Linked DNA regions of Homo sapiens: region 2 is linked to region 1. Evidence: promoter capture Hi-C in 16 types of primary human blood cells and fetal thymus (Javierre and others, 2016). All regions are on one chromosome and are shown on one strand. Each heading gives the region's core, a stretch centred on a gene start or on the middle of the fragment in contact. The rest is flanking DNA. Distances are from core to core; before and after follow the strand shown.

Evidence for each region. The method cuts DNA at HindIII sites, captures the fragments that hold promoters and counts their contacts. A CHiCAGO score of 5 or more calls a contact.
Region 2: a contact is called between a fragment that was not itself captured here and the fragment with the promoter of LCORL in region 1, in 1 of 17 cell types (total CD4 T cells). The highest score is 5.5, in total CD4 T cells.

The regions. Positions count from the first base shown.
Region 1 is chr4:18,017,658-18,024,768 of GRCh38, reverse strand. LCORL (ligand dependent nuclear receptor corepressor like) reads left to right here and starts at 3,014. Exons shown (of 8, transcript NM_001394446.1): 1 at 3,014-3,171. The coding sequence starts at 3,018. RefSeq lists an enhancer at 2,383-2,642 and silencers at 2,693-3,152, 3,473-3,802. The HindIII fragment of the contact is 12,000 bases long and covers 752-7,111 here.
Region 2 is chr4:24,586,658-24,593,768 of GRCh38, reverse strand. LOC124900682 (a long non-coding RNA gene) reads left to right here and starts at 255. Exons shown (of 2, transcript XR_007058078.1): 1 at 255-775; 2 at 4,364-5,182. The HindIII fragment of the contact is 1,128 bases long and covers 3,390-4,517 here.

The DNA of each region.
Region 1 (7,111 bases), core at 1,765-4,264:
AGCACATTCTAACTAATATATAAATTGGCACCCAGAAGGAGGTACAGTTATAACAGAAAATCTAAAATATGTGGCTTTAACTTAGAGGCTCAGTGGGTGGTAGCAAGGAAATTGTCAGAGGCTGGAAAGTTGGAGATGCTAACTGTCGTAAAATATTTGCTGAAACGGTTCATGTGTGTCTCCCATTTTTCTCCTTTCTAAACAGGAATGTTTACCATATGCTGTGGTTTGAATTTGCCCACGAAAAAGCACATGTTGGAAACATAAACTCCAATGCAACAGTGTTGGGAACTGTGGCCTAATGAGAAGTGACAGGCTATGAGGGCATAGTGAATGGATTAATGCTATTATCAAGGGAGTGGATTCTTTATAGCAGGAGTGAGTTCATTATAAAAGGATGAGTTTGGCCCCCTTTTACTCACTTGCCTTCTCTTTGCCTTTCCACTGTGGGGCCATGTAACAAGAAGGCCCTTGTTAGATGCCAGCACCCTGATCTTGGACTTTCTAGGCCCTAGAACCATGAGCAATAAATGTCTGCTCTTCATATAAATTACCCAGTCAGCGGTATTCCATTACAGCAGCACAAAATAGACTAAGACACCATGTCTATTTAGTCCCTATTCCATCACTGTGCGTGTGTGTCTGTGTGTGTGTGTGTGTGAGAGAGAGAGAGAGAGAGAAGAGAGATCGCGAGTGAGAGAGATCTGGGGAGAATACCTTATCTTTTTAGTTGTCTATAACAAGAGAAGCTTTATCCAGTTCCAATATGGAGACTACCAACCATCACCCAGAGATGCCAGACTTTGAGATTAATGCCTTTACTGAACAGAACTTTTGGATTGTCTCACTTTGTGATAGGAGTAAATCTATTTTGTAGTGTGAAGAAAGTGAACTGTAAACTGGTGACCAGAAGGATAGATCACAGTAATCCTTGATACTATTTACCAATAAATTCTGGTTATCTTCTTTTTGCACATATAATAGGATCGCACTTCCCTGCTCCCTTTAAGATAGATACGCCCGAATAATTCGCTTTGGTCAATGAAATGTGAGAACTGACTTGTATCACTTTTAGGAAGAACCAGTTCGCCATTCTTCATCTTCCTTTTGCCTATCACCCAAGGGGGGACGTTGCAGAGATTCCAGCCTCTTTAAGGATCCAGTTGCTTAGTGAGACCACATGGAATGAAGCCCCCTCCTCCTGCCACCCAGAGATGAACATGTAGATAATCAGGAAATAGTTTTTTGTTGTTGTTTTAAGCCACTAAGATTCTTGGATCATTTATTACTGCACCATAATTTTTCCCATCCTAACTAATGTAGATTACTATAAAAGTGATCAGGAAAACTGCAAAGGCTGATCATCGTGGCAATTGTGAGTGGAAGTGGTTAACTAAAACCATCCACTGACAATTCCAAAATCACCTTCACTAGTGATTTCACCTGCACTCCAATTGTGACCGTTCTAGAAAAGGTGATTATGCGTTCAAACTTTATTATTTTTAACTTATGAAGATGCAAAATTACATCTTCACTACTGAAGTCATAATGAGCAAAGAAATACTTTCTCATAGGAAGAAAAAGAAGGTGGATAAGGATAAGCCACAAAACAGGGAAGGTGGTACTGAATTCAGAGTTTATGAGATTTCCAAGAAGAATTAAACATATTTCCCACAGACTTGTGAATAAATTTCCAGAAATACACAGTACTTCTTAGCAAACGTTGGGTAGCTTAGCTTCGGCTTGATAAACTGCACTTATACGGAAACAAACGCACAATCGCTCTGGTGCAAAAGTAAAAACTGTGATTGGAGTCTGTATTTAAACGTAAGATTCCTCTCTAGCTCTCTCTGAAGAAGTTATTTTCTCTAGCACGTGGTAGAATTCATTCCATTAACCTTTGTAAAGTGCTTAATCCCGTGTCACGCACTGTACTAGGGTCTAGCGAGTGACAGATGTCACGGTACAGAGATCTCAGTGGGTCGCTGCCCTCCAGGAGCTTATAAAGAAAATTTTCCTTCTGCAGTTTTCAGCCGGCTACACCCAGTCCCCTGCAAGTAATTTTCAGTGAAAAAAACCCGCATCTTTTTCCTAGTCCTTGCAAATATTCTGGCTTTCCGAGATCTCTTCGCCTTGAATACCGAAGTCACTCCGGGATCTCTCTCTGGACGTTTGGCAGTTATTCCAGATGTAGCCGAATGACCGGCTTGCCCTTTCCCTGCGGAGTGACAGGAAGACAGCGACCCCGGAAAGTTTCCAGCACTTAAAACGCAAAGCGCAGCCTGAACCCACAAGGAGCCGACAACTCTTGCGGCTTCCACCACCCTTCTATCGCGGAGCCTAAGGAAGCTAAAGCAGTCGGGTCAGACCCGGCCACCGGGCAGCGCATGGTTCCGGGCGCAGGGAGCGACAGACTCAGCCCCCCAGCGGCGCGGCGCAGAGAAGTTGCAGGCCAGCCTGCATACCCAAGTGCGGGGGGGAAGAAAAACAAACAAACAAAAAAAATCCTTTCTTCTGGACTACAATGACCGGCAAGCAACGCGCCACGGCGCCAAGTTCAGCTTCGGGATCCTGGCGAAATGGAGCCTGGGAAGTGAAGTCTCCGGACTGTCGGAGTCCCGTAGTGAAGGCAGAAAGTAGGCGTTGCTAGTCCGCTCCACTAGCACGCCGGTTCCTGGCTGGGCTCCGGGTCTCTCGCTCCCGCTCAGGGTTTTCGCGGGCGGCGGGAGCGGTATGGCTCGCCTGAGTAAACTCCAGCGGGAGGGGGAGGAGGGTAGTGGGTGGGGAGGCGGGGTCAGCGGAAGCGGCAGGTTGCTTCCTTCTCCTCTGGCTCCCTCCCCGCCTCTCCCTGAGGGAGCGGTGGGAGGGGGAGGGCAGGGCAGAGGGAAGGTAGTGACACGTGTCAATCAACCCCCCTCCGGGGGGCGCGCGCTCCGGGGCTCGCGCCGAGGGCTCGCGCCCCTGCCTCGTGCCTGCGCTGCTCGTATGTAAATGAGGGCGCGTGACGCGGGACGCAGATGGACAAGGGAAGAGAGAGAATGGCCGCTGCCGCCGCCGCTGCTGCCGCCGCCGCCGCCGCCGCTCAGTGCCGGAGCCCTCGGTGCGCGGCGGAGAGAAGAGGATTCCGGCGGGAACTCGACTCTTGGCGCCACCGCCTCATGCACTGTGTAGGTAAGAGAGACGCGGGCCGGGGCCCCGGGCTCCGCGCGGCGACCGCTGTCGCAGCCCGAGGAGTTTGTGGCTGAGGGGTTTAGTTGAATCTCCCGTTCGGGTTAGTTCGGTGGGGGAGCGAGATGGGAGCGGCGCGGCGCGGCGGCCCCGGCGCTCGCCTTTTGTCTTGCGGGCTGCTGGCCCGGCGCGGTCCGCGCTCCTTCGCCTTCCCAGCTCTTGGGCTCCCCGGGAACTGTTAGTTTGGACCCGCTTGCTGAGCCCCCGCGGAAGCCGCCCGCTCGCTCTCTCCCCGAAACTCCTCGGCGCCCGTCGCTGCCCGCCGTCGCCCGCCGTCCACCCTGACAGGACGGAGGAAGCGGCCCGGTGGGTCGGCGCCCTGGCGGAGGAGAGCCGGCGGGCAGGGCGGCCGGAGGAAGGCGGGCTGGTCCGCGCCCCCGCCGAGCGCACACACACCCCCTTGTCGCCGCCGGGGGCCGGGTGAGCAGACGCGGCCAGTTCCCGGGGACCTGGACCTGGAGACCCACGGGCACTCGCAGGGCGGGGGCCGCTGATGGGCCGGCTGGGGGCGAGGGGCGGCGGGGGCGTCGTCCGAGGGGCGGGGGGCGCCCAACTCTGCCCTCTCGCGCTCGGCGGCGGCGCTGTGTGTACCCCTTTAAGAAGGAGCCGCTTGAGCGCTGACGGTTGGGATTTGAAGTTCTTCCTCCCTCTTTGGAAGTCTGGACGGATGGGGGGTGTTGCCACGGCAACGACACCCTCCCCCCCGTCTGCTTGCGGACGCCCCGACGACTCTGGTCCTCTTTCACTGTCATGTGATGGACTCTTCCTTACACACACACACACATATACACGCATACGCATCGCCCTCCCCACCTCCCATCCCCATTCAACTGCAATTCCCTCTTTTTGGTTGGATCTGAATCGTTTTGCCTCAAACTTCTGGGCTTGGGGCTCTCACCCTGTGGATTGTTTAGGGTGACAGGAATGGTGGGACTCCCGACCTTGCTGCAGTCGCTTTTTTTTTTTTCTTTTTTTGCCTAAGACGAATGCATAGAGCTGTTATCCAGCAGGTTGGTTTAGTGGGCTTAGAGGGGCGAACACGGATTATGGAATGGGGCGCGTTGTGGGTGTTTGTTTTGGAAGGGGGTTATGGGTGGGAGTGTAGGGGAAGAGGTAGAAAGGAAGGTTGTATTGTGTAAGCAGTGGATAGTGGCAGCAGCTTGCTCTACTGGCGAGTGAATCTTGGCATTTGGAGTTGGGGAGTAACCCTAGTGTCTTAAGAAAACAACTCTCTTACCTTGTTTCCATCTGCTCTGGCACCACCTCGCACCCCCGACCCCGCCTCCCATGTATTTGGTTAACGTCTTAAGATCTTTTTTTGACTAGTAGAGAAGAGATCGTATTAGGTTAAACTTAATACAATTTCAGTTCAGAAATGTGTACCGCAGAACGCGATGAATATAGGAAAATGTATGAGAAAGGAAGGTTACTTTAGGGGGCATTTAAGTGATGTTTAAGTAATTTACTGCTTTTGTTTTGCCCTTACGAAAAATGTATTTTGGTCTTCTCTAAGGAAAGATGATGAGAAATAGCTTTAGTCAAGTATTCGTAAGTGATTTTAGTTTATGAAGTGTAAAAAAAAACCTCTAGGTATTCTTTATATAAATTGTTTAAAAAACTAAATATTGTTGTTTGTGCTTCTTGAATACAAAATGGGCTGTTTTTGATAATTGCTTATGTAAAGATCTCTTCTGGAAACCAATTTAGAAATTACTGAGCTCATTTAGGTAGAATTAGGTAGGATGACAGCATTGCAACACTGGCTTATGATATTACTGTTAAGTTTTGTCAAGGCACAAAGTGATTTGAGGATGTCTTTTTATGTTTTGGAATATTTTGGTTGGTTTTTTTTTCTGGTCTTCTTGCTTATTTAGATACATTAAGTATAGCTTTGCATCATAAAAATAGATAGACTTGAAAAATAGTCAAACTTTAAATGAAACACAATTCATTGGATTTGATGGAAAAGGGGACTAGAATATCTTTTTGCCTTACCTACTTGTATATTCAAGTAAAATTGGAAGACATTGAAAGTTACTACTGTATTACACTTTTATTGCAATATGTGATTACATTGTATCGTATGTGAAAAGAAATTTTGTCCCTGGCTTCTAACTATATTTGAGAATTGTTTCCCACAGTCTCCATCCTAATTAAGCCCTATTAAAACCTGTCTCATATTCTTTGTTATTTATTTATTTATTGAGATGGAGTCTTACTGTCGCCCAGGCTGGAGTGTAGCGGTGCTATCTCAGCTCACTGCAACCTCCGCCTCCTGGATTCAAGCGATTCTCCTGCCTGAGCCTCCCGAATAGTTGGGATTACAGGCGTCCGCCACCACGCCCAGATAATTTTAGTATTTTTAGTAGAGACTAGGTTTCACCATGTTGGCCAGGCTGGTCTCGAATCCCATTGTTATTTTAAAATAAACAATAACATCCATTTAAACAGAGTATACACTTGTCGATTGGGCTTTTTTTAGCATCTTAGGTGTTAAGCACTTATTTATAGTGTGAATTGGGATTAAATGGAGTTTGGATAATTACCTTTTGCTATTAATGTGCCTTACATTCATTACTTTATAAACATATTTATAAAAAAGCCATATTATTTTCCCTTTGCATGTGTATACATGTGTGAATATATATGCGTACACATATGTGTATATTCAGTATATATATAATATTCGGTGCTCTCATTGCTTACAATCATTTTTATAAAATAATATCCTTCTTGTCTTTTGGTAAAGGAAATGATCCAAACATCTTAATTTTAAGTGAGATATGGAATTGTAGGCAGCGTCTCAGGGTTGTACAGCAAATTAGTATTGAGCCCCTAATGAGATTTTGAATCTCAGTTCTTAGCCTAACTCTAATCTGATTCATTTTATAACTCATATAATATTCTAATTTTATAGGGTAGAAAGTTGTTTTAGTTGTCATGACTGCTTGTAGTTAGCCACAAAGGTAAACGTTTAACTCTTAATATGGAATGAGATATTTACCTTCCTCTAATTGTGGCATTCATCTCTTTATGTTAGATTTTTAACTACTGTTCTGGTTCATTCCACATAGTTTTCTTTTCATTGAAGAGTTGTCCTACAACCTTTTGTCCCAATTAATATCTCTACTTACATTGTGGTACTTTCTATAATTTGACTGTTTTTCTATAATTATCCTATACTGTACTGTGTTATAGTTTTCAGTAGCTCATGTCACAAATGTTCGAGTGCTTATTGGATGTAGTAAATAGTATCCTAGTACTAACTATGATATTGAGAAATAGCAAATATAGTCCTGGATCTTATGAAATGTATAATATAATTAGCATTTGATAAGTCATACAATTTAAAACAGGTCTAGAATAAAATAAATACACCTGTATATTTTTAAACATCATCAGGACTTGTATAGTCCATTAGGATATCTGATCTGGGAGACTGGCCAATATTTAAAAATTTTGTATTTTGATGTAATTTCAATCTTAAAAGTTGGAAGAATAGAACTCCTATGTACCTACATTTGTTGTTTTACATTTTGCTGTGTTTATCATTCTTGCTTTATACTGATCTCTCTATATTTTTTCAGAACAGTTTGAGAGTAATTCAGAGACATCAACCTCTTTACCCCTAAATTCTTCAGTGTATATTTTTAAAAAACAAGGATACTGTCTTACCTAATTACAGTGAGGTTATTAAAACCAGAAGATTTAATGCTGATACACTGTTACCCAATTTATGGTCCATATTCAGATTATATCTGTTTATCTATTTTTTCTGTTAGCTTTTTTTCCTCTTATTCTGGGATCCACTTCAGGATCATGCATTACATTTGGTAATTATGTCTCCTTAGTCACTTTCAATTGGGAACACTTCGTCAACCTT
Region 2 (7,111 bases), core at 2,704-5,203, 6.6 Mb before region 1:
CTATGTGTATGTTTGTATACTGGGGGCATAGCAAGTAGTTTGAGAACGCTGTAGACTTACCATGAGCTGGACCTGGGCCAGACATCCAGTCTCGATTTCCATATATCTCCATGCTAAGAAAGGGCCAATAATGAAACTCTGAGTCTCTTGGTATCAATGTCATTTTACACACTGTGTCCATGATGTCCTTGAAATCGTTAGATATTCCCTTTTCTCCAGTGTATGGCCACCTAAGTAAATGGCTATAGATCACTTGAGGGAAGGACTTGGGGAATTATTACTGTGTACACTTGTGCTGGTGCTGCAGAGTTCTTTCTTCTAGGGACATGCCCTCTCCCTCCAATTAAATATATTCTAGGTCCAAAAACTGGTTCAAGTCCAGAAACTGGGCAAGTGATCATGACTTTGTATCAGAGCATCAGCCTTTAACCTCTTGATCATCCATTGTTGGCTTAATTTGGTTGTTCAGATTGAAGACTTTCTTTGATGGTTGCCCATTTCTTTTGCTCCAGATGGCTTATTTGTCATCTCCAAAACATCTGTGGGTAAAGCCCCCTGGACTGCCGCTCTTGCCTTGCAGTGTCCATTTGGCTGTTGAAGTTTGAGTGCCATCATGTCACTTCAGTGTTACAAGGTTCCATCATCTCTACTGTTCTCAGTGAACCCAGTTCTGAAATGGTATCTTCTGTCTTCACCCTGGACTACAGGGAGAACCACTGCTGAGTCTTAGAGTGATGCTGATTCCTCTCTAACCAGATAATGCCTTATTGATTTGGTAAGTGGTGTATACTCTGAACTTTCCTTTGAAATATATTCATCTGTTGGGTTTTCCATTTTTATATAAGTATATTCACTCTAGCAAGCTCACTTCTTTGAGCCATTTAGTCCCTCCTTACAATGTAAACCAAAGCAGTTTTGGCATCTCTATGTAACCAGGTGTACTGTGAGCCATTGATTTCTCTGTGCTTCTAGATGACATCCTAAGTGTGTTCACACTATCACCCAGGATCCTTGCATGAGTGTTAAATCTTGTATGCTAGGAGAGTATTACCAACTTGATAAATTCTCCCTTATCTAACTGTATGCTCCACCTCCCCACCCTGACATTCATAACCTTCAGAATTCGGTCCTTGGCCAGACGTGGTGGCTCACGCCTGTAATCTCAGCACTTTGGGAGGCTGAGGCGGGCAGATCACCTGAGGTTGGGAGTTCAAGACCAGCCTGACCAACATGGAGAAACCCCATCTCTACTAAAAATACAAAATTAGCTGGGCGTGGTGGCACATGCCTGTAATCCCAGCTACTCAGGAGGCTGAGGCAGGAGAATCACTTGAATCCAGGAGGTGGAGGTTGCAGTGAGCCAAGATCACGCCATTGCACTCCAGTCTGGGCAACAAGAGCGAAACTCTGTCTCAAAAAAAAAAAAAAAAAAAAGAATTTGGTCCTGTGCCAACTCCTCTGGTTCCTGCTGGTACCTGTTGGCTGGGTCCTACAGCTTCTTTGAGTAGGATTGTATGCCAATATTATGTGTCCTCTGATGTATTAGTCTGTTCCCACGCTGCTAATAAAGACATACCCAAGACTTGGTAATTTATAAAGGAAAGAGGTTTAATGGACTCACAGTTCCACATGGCTGGGGAGGCCTCACAATCATGGCAGAAGGCAAAGGAGGAGCAAAGGCACATCTTACATGGTGGCAGGCAAGAGAGCATGTGCAGGGGACTCCCCTTTATAAAACCATCAGATCTCCTGAGACTTACTCACTATCAGTAGAACAGAATGGGAAAGACTCATCCCCATGATTCAATTACCCCCCGACCAGGTTTCTCCCAAGACACATGGAAATTATGGGAACACCAATTCAAGATGAGATTTGGGTTAGGACACAGCCACACCGTATCAGATGTTCTTGGAATATCATATGTAGTGATATGACCTTGTATCATGTGATACTTATATCATATACTTTTTTCTGCCTTCCCACTGTAAGAAATGGCAGTCAAAGGAACTTTACTTACAGAAGTTTTGGAGACAATAAATTAAATAAGGCATCTGGAGGAAAATAAATGGACAAACGTCAAAGGAAGTTCTCAATCTGAACAACCAAATTAAGCCAAAGATGGATGCTTATGATATACTTATATCATATGTAGTGATGTCCCTGGAATATCATATGCAGTGACTTCCTGGTTTATGTATCCTGAAAAGGGTGGTAGACGTTATTCTGCAGAGAGGAAACCTCTGCATCATTTTACAAGAGAGGAACACGAGCTTTTAATACAGAAAAGTAGAGTACTTTGGCAGACTCAGTGGGTTGAGGGGAATCTAGGGATTCAAAATTTTTCAAGTACATCAACCCAGATGTCCCCACCCATGTGTCAGAGTCCCACTATTTCCCATCCAGGGTCCTAACCTTGGTATATCACAATTGCCTAAGTGGAGAGTTTAATCTTCTTTGGAAGTTTCCACTTAATTTTCTGCTACTATTATGTTTAAGTCCTGGAACTGCCTTTCAGTTTTCTCTGCCTTTCCACTGCAAGAAATGAAAACCTTTTTATATGCTCCCTCATAGGATTTCTGGTTTTCATGCTTAGTTTTGAATTGCAGATAAATAACTTCCAGCCTTTCATTATCTCTCCCCAAAATATTAATTCTACTTAGCAATAGCCATCAAATTCTAGGGAGCTTATAGTTACCAGTTCCCCCATATGTGAGAACTGCATGCCTTTTGCAGTACACCACATGCTTTTTTCCCAGTAAGCTACAGGTGAAAGTTTTAACAATTGCCCTGCTTCCTTGTGTCCTACCTCCACCACAGATTCATTGCCAGCCAGCAATGGGTGACCAACTCCAAAATCCAATCATAATGTCTGCTTTCTTTCTGGCACCACTTCTGGCACCAAATCTTTTAGGTCGGCTTCCATGAAAACTAGACTCTGAGGCAAAGATTAGCATTTAGAATGTTTATTAAGAAGTACATTTAGGATCAATATCAGTGGAAAGAAAAGATAAAAGTAGAATCAGATAAGGAAAAGTTGACTGTGATGCTGTTGCATGACAATGAATTTGACTGGCCTTTATCCCTGGTTCACGGGATTGGTTCATTTTAAATCCTTGGGGTCTCCCAAGTCATAAGAGTATCTTTGTTGCTCTCTTTAGTGAATATGCAGTGACTTCCTGGTTTGTGTATCCTGGTTTATATATTCCCTTTATTCTCTTTATGTATTCCCTTTATTCTCTTTAGGTTTATGTATTCCCTTTATTCCCTAAAGAGTTACTCTCTTTATGTTGGGCCCTTGGACGACATCTGAATTAGTGCTAAGGAGATAACTCAGGATGGGAACTGGTCATCCCAGAAAGACCAACCATGTGATTAAAGGGTTGAAGCTTTGAGCCACATGTTATCAGCCCAATCTCTTGACCTTTAAGCAGGGAAAGGAGGCTGGAAATTGAGTTGAATCATGGAGCCAATGATTCAGTCAATCAATCATGGCTACATAATGAAACCCCAATAAAAACTGCAGACACTGAAGCTCAGTGGAACATCCTAGTTTGTAAGGACATGGATGTGAGGGAGGGTCACATGTTCTAATTCCATGGGGAGAGGACACAGACGCTCTGATTTGTTTCCTTTATAATAAAACAGCAACCATAAGTATAGTGCTTTCCTGAGTTTTATAAGTTATTCTAGTAAATTATCAAATATGATGGAATTGTGAGAAACTCTGAATTTGTAGCCAGTTGGGCCGGAGTGCTGGTGGCCTGCAGACCCCTGAACTTATGGATGGTGTCTGGAGTGGGGACATCTTCAGTCTTGCTTGGGACTGTGGCCTTAACTTGTGGGATTGGAGGTAACTCTGGATTGTTACTGGCCAAATTGCATTGGGGTACATCAGATGCCATTATAACAAAGACTTCAGCTGATCCCACAGAGGGTTCAGATGCTCTGAAGCTCACAGTTGTCCTAAGTTGGTAGACAGGCCAAGCCTTTATACCTGTAGAATGTATTCAGGCTGCCCCTGGGCATGGCAGCTTTCTTTAGCCATGGAAGTTTCTGAAGAGGGCTGACACGAGGATCGTGTGCAGGTGGCAAGCACTCCCAGAGCTGAGGGATGTCTCATTATGAAAGTGAGATTTTGATGGCAAGCCATAGCACCACTATAGTTTGTAACTATTTCTGTCTCTTACTAGAGAGAGGATAAGGTGATTAAAAATAGTACTGAAAATTCTTTCAAATTTGTAAGCATTTTGTTGCTAAAGAGGATTCAAAGAGGGAGACTGGTGGATTGATCCTGGCAAATCCTCATGAGTGATCATGTTGTTTTCCCACTTAAATCTCATTTCTGTTTTCCTCTTGTTTTAGGAAGGATAAAGGCTTACCTCCTCAGCAGGACTCCTCAGATGGGGCATGATATGCCCTGTTCTTGCATCTGCAGGATCACAGATGACAAATTCCTCATCTCAACACATCCATGTTGTTTTCTCTGTCTGTGGGTCGCACCTGACTTTTTAAAGCTTCAGGGCCTTTGCACAGGCTGTTTCCTCTGCTTGGAATGCTTTCTGCCCTCTCTGCCTGGACAATTTGCATTCTTTTTTTTTTTTTTTTTGAGATGGAGTTTTGCTCCTGTTGCCCAGGCTGGAGGGCAATGATGTGACCTTGGCTCACCGCAACCTCCGCCTCCTGGGTTCAAGCAATTCTCCCACCTTAGCCTCCCGAGTAGCTGGGATTACAGGTATGCACCACTATGCCCGGCTAATTTTGTATTTTTAGTAGAGATGGGGTTTCTCCATGTTGGTCAGGCTGGTCTTGAACTCCTGACCTCAGGTGATCTGCCTGCCTTGGCCTCCCAAAGTGCTGGGATTGCATTTATTTTTAAGGTTTTTGTCTAAATGTTTCTTTCTCAGAGAGGCATTCCCTAACCCTCAATGTAGATCAAGGCCACTTGTTATATGCTCTCACAATGCCTGTCGTCTGTAGCTGGCCTTTTCAGCACTTATCATCGTGATAACAACATAGTTATTTATGTGTTTAGCTGTTCAGTGCCTGTCTCTCTCCCTCTGCCACGTTTTATGAAGGCAAGAACTATGGCTATTTTCTTCTTTCCTCTTTCCCCAGCACTTAATGCCTGACATGGGAGCTTAATACATATTTGTTGATTGAATAAATAAATGGTAATAGTGATACTGTACAATGGTCAATAGTGCGGCTCTAGAGTTGGACTGGGTTCAAATAATCCAAATCCCCACTTGTCCACTGAGAGTTCTGTAAACTAGTTCTCTACATGGACAATGCAGAAGTTTTATCAGTTCATGTTCATCTTGTCAGACTGGGAGAACTTATCTTCAGTAACCACACCTTAGACGAATAAAGTGGAACGAGAATATCTATTTATCAGCCGCAGCAGAACATAGCAATTAAGCACACACACTGTCTGGGCTGAATCTCAGAACTGTCATCTTGGCCAAAATACTTGCCTCTTTGAGTAACAGTTTCCTCAGCTGTAAATAAGAGTAATTCATTGGACTAAACTTGAAGTTGCTGTAAGTCTCAAATAGGCTCAAATGTGTAAGGAACAGCATCTGGCTCATAGTGCTTTGTATGTGTTTGCTATTAGCAATTATTTTTTATTAATTTAGGTTGACTTGAGACCCTGCAGCTGGTTAGCTGCATAAGACATTTCCTCCAGGTGAGAAAGTCCATGTCATAGGCCAGAGGGTTGTCTAGTAGAGAAAGAGTAACAGTAAGGGAAAATAGGATATTATCTGGAAATATTTCCAGCCAAGTTTGTGGAGGGCCTGGTGGGTGCCTTTTCTCTACTCCAGGGATAATGATGTCTGAAAATCCAGGGTGGATCATTTAGACCTAGAATTCTACCCTTCTTCCCAAGGAGTGTGCACATCCTGGCAGCCTCTGGCCACTTGTTCCCCTTATTCTAGATTCCAGAGAGGTCACTATCCTTCAATAAGTAGGGCCTTTCTCTTTCCTCCTTTCCTTCTTTTCTTCCTTTCTTCTTTCCTTCCTTTCTTCCTTTCTTTCTTTCCTTCTTTCCTTCCTTTCTGTCTTTCTCTCTTTCTTTCTTTCTGATGGCGTCTTGCTCTGTTGCCCAGGCTGGAGTGCAGTGGCACAATCTTGGCTCACTGCGACCTCAACCTCCCGGGTTCAAGTGATTCTCCTGCCTCAGCCTCCTGAGTAGCTGGGATTACAGGCATGTGCCACTATGCCTGGCTCATTTTTGTATTTTTAGTAGAGACGGGGTTTCACCATGTTGGTCAGCCTGGTCTCGAACTCCTGACCTCATGATCCACCTGCCTCGGCCTCCCAAAGTGCTGGAATTACAGGTGTGAACCACCACGCCTGCCCAGGGCCTTTCTTTAATTGTTCAGGTCACAACACAACTGATGAGGTTATGGTTTTCTTTAGCTGTAACCTAGGCCCAAGGGAAAAGTCTCATCACCTTGATTTCAGTTCCTCTTTCATCATTTATGAGAGGCTGACATCTGAGTGGAGCACTTCTGCAGGTAGAATTCTAACTTTTTTCCCTGATTATTTCTCCAAAATTTTAGAGCACTTTATAGCAGTCATCAAACTGGAAACCTGAAGACTGAGATTTTAATACTTCAAGTGAAATCTGTATTTTATTCTGACTTTGATACCAACTGATTGTGTGAACTTCAATAAGACCTAGGGGTTCAGTTTCCCTCATTTGTAAAATTAAGCAAAAAGAGAAAAATCAGATGGAATCCAGTGATTATACATCATGATCTGAAAAAAGTCAACACAATTGTCCCTCAGTATCCACTAGGGATTGGTTCCAGGAGAAACTGCCGACACTAAAGTCCGTGGAGGTTCAAGTGTCTGATATAAAATAGTACAGTATTTGCATATAACCTATGCACATTCTTCTGTATACTTAATCATCACTAGATCACTTATAATACCTAATACAATGTAATTGCTATGGAAATAGCTGTTATACTGTATTGTTTAAGAAATAAGAGCAAGAAAAAGTCTGTACATGTTCAATACAGATGCAACCATCCATTTTTAAAGAAAAATATATTTTTGATTTGCAGTTGATTGAATCCAGGGATAAGGAACCCACAGATAATA